Regions from separate parts of the Homo sapiens genome. Here region 1 is linked to region 2. The links are contacts of gene promoters, found by promoter capture Hi-C in human tissues and cell types (Jung and others, 2019). All regions are on one chromosome and are shown on one strand. Each heading gives the region's core, a stretch centred on a gene start or on the middle of the fragment in contact. The rest is flanking DNA. Distances are from core to core; before and after follow the strand shown.

Region 1 (3,777 bases), core at 141-2,640, 580 kb before region 2:
TAATTTTATTGTTTATTTTGTGTTTAATGCACAGCTACTTCACACCTTAAACTTGCTTTGATTTGGTGATGTAAACTTTTAAACATTGCAGATCAGTGTAGAACTGGTCATAGAGGAAGAGCTAGAAATCCAGTAGCATGATTTTTAAATAACCTGTCTTTGTTTTTGATGTTAAACAGTAAATGCCAGTAGTGACCAAGAACACAGTGATTATATACACTATACTGGAGGGATTTCATTTTTAATTCATCTTTATGAAGATTTAGAACTCATTCCTTGTGTTTAAAGGGAATGTTTAATTGAGAAATAAACATTTGTGTACAAAATGCTAATTTGTGTGTGTTTTTTGAACATGACTTGTAAAATGCGGAACTTTGATAAAGTATTGGTTTATGTGGAATAAGTGGCTTAATTTCATTTTCTGTCACATGGTTTATAGAAAGTAGTTAGCTGAATAAAAACTATATAAAGTGATGGCATCTTTGTCAAAATTCCATTGTTGTGTTAATAATGACAGCAAGAAGAGTAGCCTCAGGGGATGTTCCCCTCAAACTAGCACAACCATTCCATCATCGTAGAAAAGTAGCACTTTTGCTAAACTGTCTTGAATATTTTGTACTTACATAGCGCCTTTCATCTCTTGATTTCTCAAAATGCTTTATGAACACATTTAAAGAAAGTGGTTTAAGTCTTGTCCAACACTTGACAGGTCTGCTGTGTTTAGCAAGTGAGGAATTTAACTTTACTTCAAAACTGCTTTCTGCCTATTAGGAGTGAGGATACCTAAGTAATGCTGATAGAACAGGACAATGTTGGGCTTTTCTCCATGTTATAAGCCACTACTCAGCAATGCATCAGTAAATACCTATTCACCCACTGTATGCCAGCCACTGTGCTTATATGCAGGGGATGCAAAGGTGCATGAGACCTGCCCTCTACCTTTAAGAACAGTATAATGGAGAAGGGGAGACAAACCTTGTGACAGATTCCTTATGTACTGTGATAATACACAGTGGCAGCAGCTAAAATGTCTAGGTTTGCTTAGCTTTGTATTCAGTAATAATAAGTTGATCTAAGAGTTCAGCATAAACTGAATGAAATGCCATTTAATGGTAGAGGAACCAAGCATTAAGGCAGTACTACACTTAATTTTTTAAGCAAATATGTAAAGTATATTTTCAAACTTTTCTAATGTTATGGCCCCAAATTTCTTAGTTTTGGCCTTTTTACTACCTATACTATTTTTACTGTTTTGTTTTGTCTCCATGTGGTAGTACTTCTGTGAACTCTAAAGGGAAAAAAAATTCTGCAAGCAGCATTAGTATATAACTACTACTGTAAGTAAAACTGCCTATTGACACTTTAGGAGTTCCTGCTTCAGAAGCTTAGTTAAGAAACAGCTTGTGGCCGGGTGTGGTGGCTCATGCCTGTAATCCCAGCACTTTGGGAGGCTGAGGCGGGCGGATCACGAGGTCAGGAGATCGAGACCATCCTGGCTAACGCGGTGAAGTCCCGTCTACTAAAAATACAAAAATTAGCCAGGCGTGGTGGCGGGCGCCTGTAGTCCCAGCTACTAGGGAGGCTGAGGCAGGAGAATGGCTTGAACCCGGGAGGCGGAGCTTGCAGTGAGCCGAGATAGCGCTGCTACACTCCAGCCTGGGCGACAGAGACTCCGTCTCAAAAAAAAAAAAAAAATTGACTTTCAACAAATTGATAGTGAGCATTAAGGGTTTCCAAGTTGGATTTGTAACTCCTCATCATTCCTTGTATGACAACTTTCTGAATATATGTCACTATGTAGTAAAATTAAACACTCCAAACTCATCTTTCTGTTGTTAGAAGTTTTCAGCGGTACTTCCATGCAACTTTAAATCTCACTGCTCTCTATGGTTGATGTCAAATGACCTTCAGTAATGACTGAGAATTGAATACAAATAGATTACAAAGCCAAAATTTGATGTTAAATGACTCAGGAAATTTTAGTTGTATTTTCAATTCAAGTACTTAGTAGCCTACGTTTGCTTGGCCTCTGGTTCTTTATGGAAAATAGGCTTTGTAGTGGCATTGTGGAGCAAAGGAGACTGTTACACCTTAATTAACTTTTTTTACTGATGCAAATAATTTGAGGATAGAGAGGAGGGAAGTAGTGAAAGCTATGACCTAAAACATTGGGACCAAATAGAGGCTCACAGATATTTGGATTATTTTATGTGCTTATTATTAAATAAGGAAAGCATTTTGTGATATGTGGAAGACGCTATGTGAAGTTTTACCTATCTTCTCAAAGACCTTTTCTTTTGTATTTTCTTTTGGTGTTTCTTAAAGCCAAACAAAGAAATGTTCTTAAGGAGACAGGGTGGGTTTTTCTGTGGGCCTTTGTTGGTTTTTCTGTGGGCCATCGCCCTCTAATGGAATTGATCTCTGGCTGTTTGATTTTTTTCATATTGTATTTTTAAAATTTGTTGTACAGTGCCCTGTGAGCACCAAGTACCACTAGATGAATAAAACGTATTATATCTAAAGTCTTAGTAGACCAATTTTTAATCTTAGTTGACTCTGTATTGTTATCACACTGCACTCTGTTGTGGTTGTGCCATTTTTGCAAAATTGAGCTCTTTCGGTTGTTTTCGAAATAAGGGAACTTAGTGTTGAAAAACCAGAGAACTTTTTCTTTAATAAGAAACTAAAAAAGTTGCAGCCACATAGGTTCAGTTTGGCTCTTTGGTTTCCAGTGGCTCTCAAATCCCCTAAGGTTAAAAGAAAACACTACAGCTACCCTAGGGTTTCTCAACCTTGGCATTATTGACATCTTGAATCAAATAATTCATTATTGTGGGGGTGCTGTCCTGTGCCTTGCAGAATCTTGAGCAGTGTTCCTGACCTCTACCTATTGAGATGCCAGCAGCACACCCCCATCCCAGTGTAATAACCAAAAATGCCTCCAGACATTGTCTCATGTCCCTTGGAGAGCAAAATCTCCCTAGGGTGAGAACCACTGAGACCATTGTTTAAGCAGGACTTACATGTTTAATAAAATTAAAGCATGATATATAAAGCATTTGATTTTAGGCAGCAGTTGTCTAGGAAGTAACTAGAAATACAACTTAGCAAATACTTAAATGTCTACCTTGGGGTAAAGCTCCGCATAAGTCCTGGGGAGAGTAAGCTGTGAAAATGTGTAAGATGACCCCGCACTGATCCTCAGAGCATCTTGTGACAGTTGGGAGCCATGTTGGCAGCTCGGGCAGGAGTGCTGGAGGTGGCTTGGTGCTCCACTTGGGATGCTGGTCTTCAAGCATTGTGTTCTCACCTGTGAGCTGGCGATAGGTGGGTTATATGGTACGGCTGGAAGAGGAGGGCAGGCAGGGCACAGAAACCCCTTCCTCCCCTTTTAAAAAATTTGGATAGGAAGCCATGGAGGGAATTTAATGTGACTTGATAGAGAATTTAGGTTTGCAAGGCAGTCAAGATTTGTAGGCAGGAGGGAATAAGTAAGTAAACCAGAGTGAGTGTAGTCAGTGACATCTCTAGTGTTCTTGCTAGAATAACTAAGTTTTAAAATTTATTTTGTGGATTCTAAAAAGATTTTGAAAGGACATGCTTGGGCCTTGGACAGTTACTTTTTTATAGCCTGGCTGATTAATGAAGTTCTGGAAGGAAATTTTAACATGTTAGCTGAGAGGCTGGCGAGGGGATTTAATCTAAATAGGTTTGTGCTAGGAAAAAACTTGTAAATAGAAGAAATTGTTTCTATAACTGCCCAAACTTTGAAAAAAG
Region 2 (4,091 bases), core at 426-2,925:
TTCACAGAAGACTTCCTTGGCTCTCAGACTGAATCAAATTCCCTTTTTCTATACTTTCATAGCACTCGCTATTTCATAGAAATGATTGTTCACTTATATGTACACATTTGGTTGTACGATTTGATTAATGTTTGTCTTGCCCACTACTCTATTTTAATGAGGGCAAGGACTGTATTTATTATTCTTACCATTTCATCCTCAAATCCTGTTGCAGTACCTGGCACATAGTAGGCACTTTGTAAAAGTCTGCTGAATGAATAAACAGAGGAAATGAACAACTGAAGGGCAGAGGTCATAGTAACTTGCCCAGGGTCAAGATGGCAAGACTGAGACTATAGCCAGGTTTGCTAATTTCCAGTCGAGATCACCAGCCTTCTGAATAAATATCTTGTCCTAAATTTTGTTCTAAATCATTGGAACCAAAGCAACGTCACAACTCAAGTCCAATTTCTCGGCCTACCATTTTCTACAGATGGCATTTATTCAGCAAGGGAATGTTGTAGGTATAGTAATTTATCTTTTTTCCATGAAACATGTGTTATCTTCTTGCTCTATTTTGAAGAGATATTATGATAAATGATGCCACTATTTAAAACTTGTAAAGCTTCTTGAGGTTCTCAGAAAAAAGTACAAGGTATAGGTCAAAAAGAGTAATTTTGTCTCTCACAAAAGAATTTTCTGTTCAAAAAATGCTGTTAACTTGAAAAAGTCATATCTCCAAAAGAACGTTCTAATAGGTGGGATAATCATCATCATATTTCCAGCTATAATCCATCATATTTCCAGGTGTATCCCTTCCCTTAAAAGTAAAAAAGGAGAAAATCACTTTGCTGTGTGGAAGTGCTTTGTGTGTTTTATAAAATCCACATAAAATGTTCGTGGTTCAAGGAGTGGCTGCCGCATTTCTAAGGCAAATAAGCTTATCCCTGAAGAAGCTTGAAGATCTGACTCTCAAGAATCTTTGTGTTCTGGATGAAAAAGGAATCATTATTTTTTAACTCCCCTGCTCAAGTCAGTGACTTCCACTGGCACCCAATCCATTGGTTATAAGTACCCATGAATTGCCTTGCCAATTATAGGCAGGATAACCTAGGAGGACCAACCAAAACCAAACTCCTGGTAAGCTTTATTAGCCTTTTCTACAATGTGTCTCAGTTTCTCTTTCACACCTTGGAGTGGAAGACAATCTCTACTCACACTGTTGTGGTATGTGTCTGTCTGTCTCAGATGTGTGTATAAGGTGTATTTCTCAGCTCGGTATCTGAAGTAATTTCTTTTTCTTTTCTTTTTTTTAAAGACTGCTGTCTTAAGGCTTAAAAGTAATTTAAGGTTTTGTTTTTTGTTATTTTAAGAGTTGCAGTTTCTTTGGAGACAACAAAGTACTTTTTTTCCAAAGATGAAAAAGGCATATTCAGACTTTCTATGTTATGTTCCATAATTGTTTTGCTTATCACTGTATAACATTCTCATTATCATGGGCTACTTTAAGCTAATCAGTTGCATTTTGGGGTCCTCATTTAGAAGTCAATCTGGAAAAAAGATGGCTGTAAAACTTAGATAAACCAGTATGCTATTTCTCCTTCCTTGTCTGCCTTTACAGATGTTTCCTCTTTCTCTCTCTCTTCCCTGACTATCTCTCTCAATGATCATTGACAGCTCCCGCATCCCCTCTTTCACTCAGCTTCACTCCACCATGACCAGAGCACCTCTCCTGCTACTATGTGTTGCCCTGGTGCTGCTTGGGCATGTGAATGGAGCCACAGTAAGAAATGAGGACAAATGGAAGCCACTCAACAACCCCAGAAACAGAGATCTGGTAAGAACACACTTGGGGCCTGGGTTTCAGGATAGAACTAATGCCTCTTTGGATTTACGCACACAGCATTCTGTTTTCCAGAACGTAGTGGAAAGGGGGCTACCAAGGGTTGAGAAAATTCTCCAACAGGATTGGACCAGAGTTTTACTACCCTAGTGGTTGGCAACCTATTGTTTCTCTGGCCAGTTTACATTTGTTTCTGTAAAGAGAAACAAATTTATATTTAGAAACAATCTTATACACACATAGTACAATTCATTTGTAACTGATCTTATATACACATTGACTTTGTAGCCTTGATTTCTAATACATATAAAAAATAAAGAGTGTAACAGGGAATTGCTCGTGCATAGCTTAGATTGAACTGATGATAAAACAAGTTATCATATAACTAGAGATTGCCAAGCTCAGCTGCAAAAATTGAAAGTTGACCCTGCATGGGTATCAATTTACTGGACATATTTTCAACATATAGTTATCTATAAAATAGAATTCAAAAGATCAGTAAACATTCTCTTTAAAAAAAATGCCAAATACAATAAACATGTTGACATGACTATTTTGAAATATGGTTTTTCTAAAGTGAATGATGGGAAATATAACAACATAGGATTAAAATAAACTGAGATAAGAGACCAGCAGGATTTGTTTTCTGGTCACAGCTGCTGACGAAAACAGGATCTGGTCCAGACAGGATAAAGTGAAAACACTGGGTGAAACCAGCAGATGGCAACAAAAGTGGTCCCGACCTGCTCTCATTGCTCTTAGGATATGATCCTCCCCTCAGTGCCATGACAGTTTACAAATGTCATGGCAATTACCTGGAAGCTACCACTCCTTTCCATGGCAATGACCCAAAAGTTACCACCTCTTTCCTAGAAAGCTCTAAATAACTCCCTTCTGTTTGCATTAACCCATCCCTTAATTTGCATATATTCAAAAGTGGATAAAAACACAGTTGATAAGAGCCCATATGTTGTCAGCCCTAGGTGCACTACCTATGAATTAGCCTTGTTCTGGCAGGAGCAGTACCTTTCAATAAAAGATTGTTACCACAACCAGCCTGCCCTTAAATTCTTTTCTGGGCAAAGCCAAGAACCCTCCTGTGCTAAGCTCCAGTTTTGGGATTTGCCTGTCCTGCATCAAAGCAAGTAGCACTTCGCACATCTTCTGTGTTCATTTCCTAATGGAAATCTGAAAAGAAACTATTGCAGAAGGCAACAACAGAGATCTCATATTAAGGAAGAGGAGATACTGAGCTGCTTATTATGGAGTTCATTTTCACCTTTGACCTTAGTACTCAGAGATAGTTCACAATGAATCTTTCCACTGTGGTGCCGCTCCATAGTCTTCCTTCAATTTTCAGTAAGAATGGTGAATTATTTTGGTTAGGGTTGAAATGTCAGAAAGAAGGTACAGAGGAGGGGAGGAGAAGTAGCTGAAGCATGTACTTGTATTTCTAGATTTTGTATTTCCTGCCTCTTAGATTAGCCTTAAAGTCAATTCAGGGGAAAAATAGAGGGAAGAAAAACACCTTTATTTTTGGTGTTTCATTTATATCTGGCATTGACCATTTTCTTTCTCTCTTTAGTTTTTCAGAAGGCTTCAGGCATATTTTAAGGGCAGAGGTCTTGATCTTGGAACATTTCCAAATCCTTTCCCCACGAATGAAAATCCTAGACCTCTCTCTTTCCAGTCAGAACTTACTGCTTCTGCATCTGCAGATTATGAAGAGCAGAAAAACTCCTTTCACAATTATCTCAAAGGCTGAAAGTTTCTTCTGAGCTCAGGTAAAAGTTGGCCCTTTATTCTGGATCTGTCCAAACATACAAGTCAGCCATAAAGTAGATATTTTGAAAGTATTTATTTGAAAACATAATTTTATTTCCTCATAGAAATAAATGCTCAGTTCTGCTTATACTCATTACTATTAAGTATTTGGATTTGGTTCAGGTATTTTACAGTCTTGTTTTAAAAAGAAATGACAGTTTTTATTTTTTAAGCATAGTTATCCAGGCAGAGACATATTAAAATAATAGAATTATCTCTTAATAGGATTATTAAATTAATAACATGGCCACACTCTTACCTGTATCTTTTTCCAGACCAACTGATATAGCTAAGTTATGTGGAAAATCTACATAAAGAAATATGTCAAATTGAGCTGTTGGATTAGATGGGAATTAAAAGTTGAAAGTATGGTTCTTTGGGGGATAAAGTATTATGCATATATTTGAGCTTGAACTTCCTCACCTATAGGAAGAAAAGGTTGACT

Evidence for each region. The method cuts DNA at HindIII sites, captures the fragments that hold promoters and counts their contacts. A contact is called where the count stands out against the background at its distance.
Region 1: a contact is called between a fragment that was not itself captured here and the fragment with the promoter of C2orf66 in region 2, in 1 of the 25 tissues and cell types used here (dorsolateral prefrontal cortex).

The regions. Positions count from the first base shown.
Region 1 is chr2:197,388,529-197,392,305 of GRCh38, reverse strand. SF3B1 (splicing factor 3b subunit 1) reads left to right here. Exons shown (of 25, transcript NM_012433.4): 25 at 1-2,522. The coding sequence ends at 3. Among named protein-coding and RNA genes, the nearest start is that of SF3B1, 45 kb to the left of the region's middle. The HindIII fragment of the contact is 5,939 bases long and covers 1-3,777 here.
Region 2 is chr2:196,806,939-196,811,029 of GRCh38, reverse strand. It overlaps C2orf66 (chromosome 2 open reading frame 66), which reads left to right and starts at 1,675. Exons shown (of 3, transcript NM_213608.3): 1 at 1,675-1,816; 2 at 3,408-3,606. The coding sequence starts at 1,694. The coding sequence ends at 3,587. The HindIII fragment of the contact is 3,112 bases long and covers 177-3,288 here.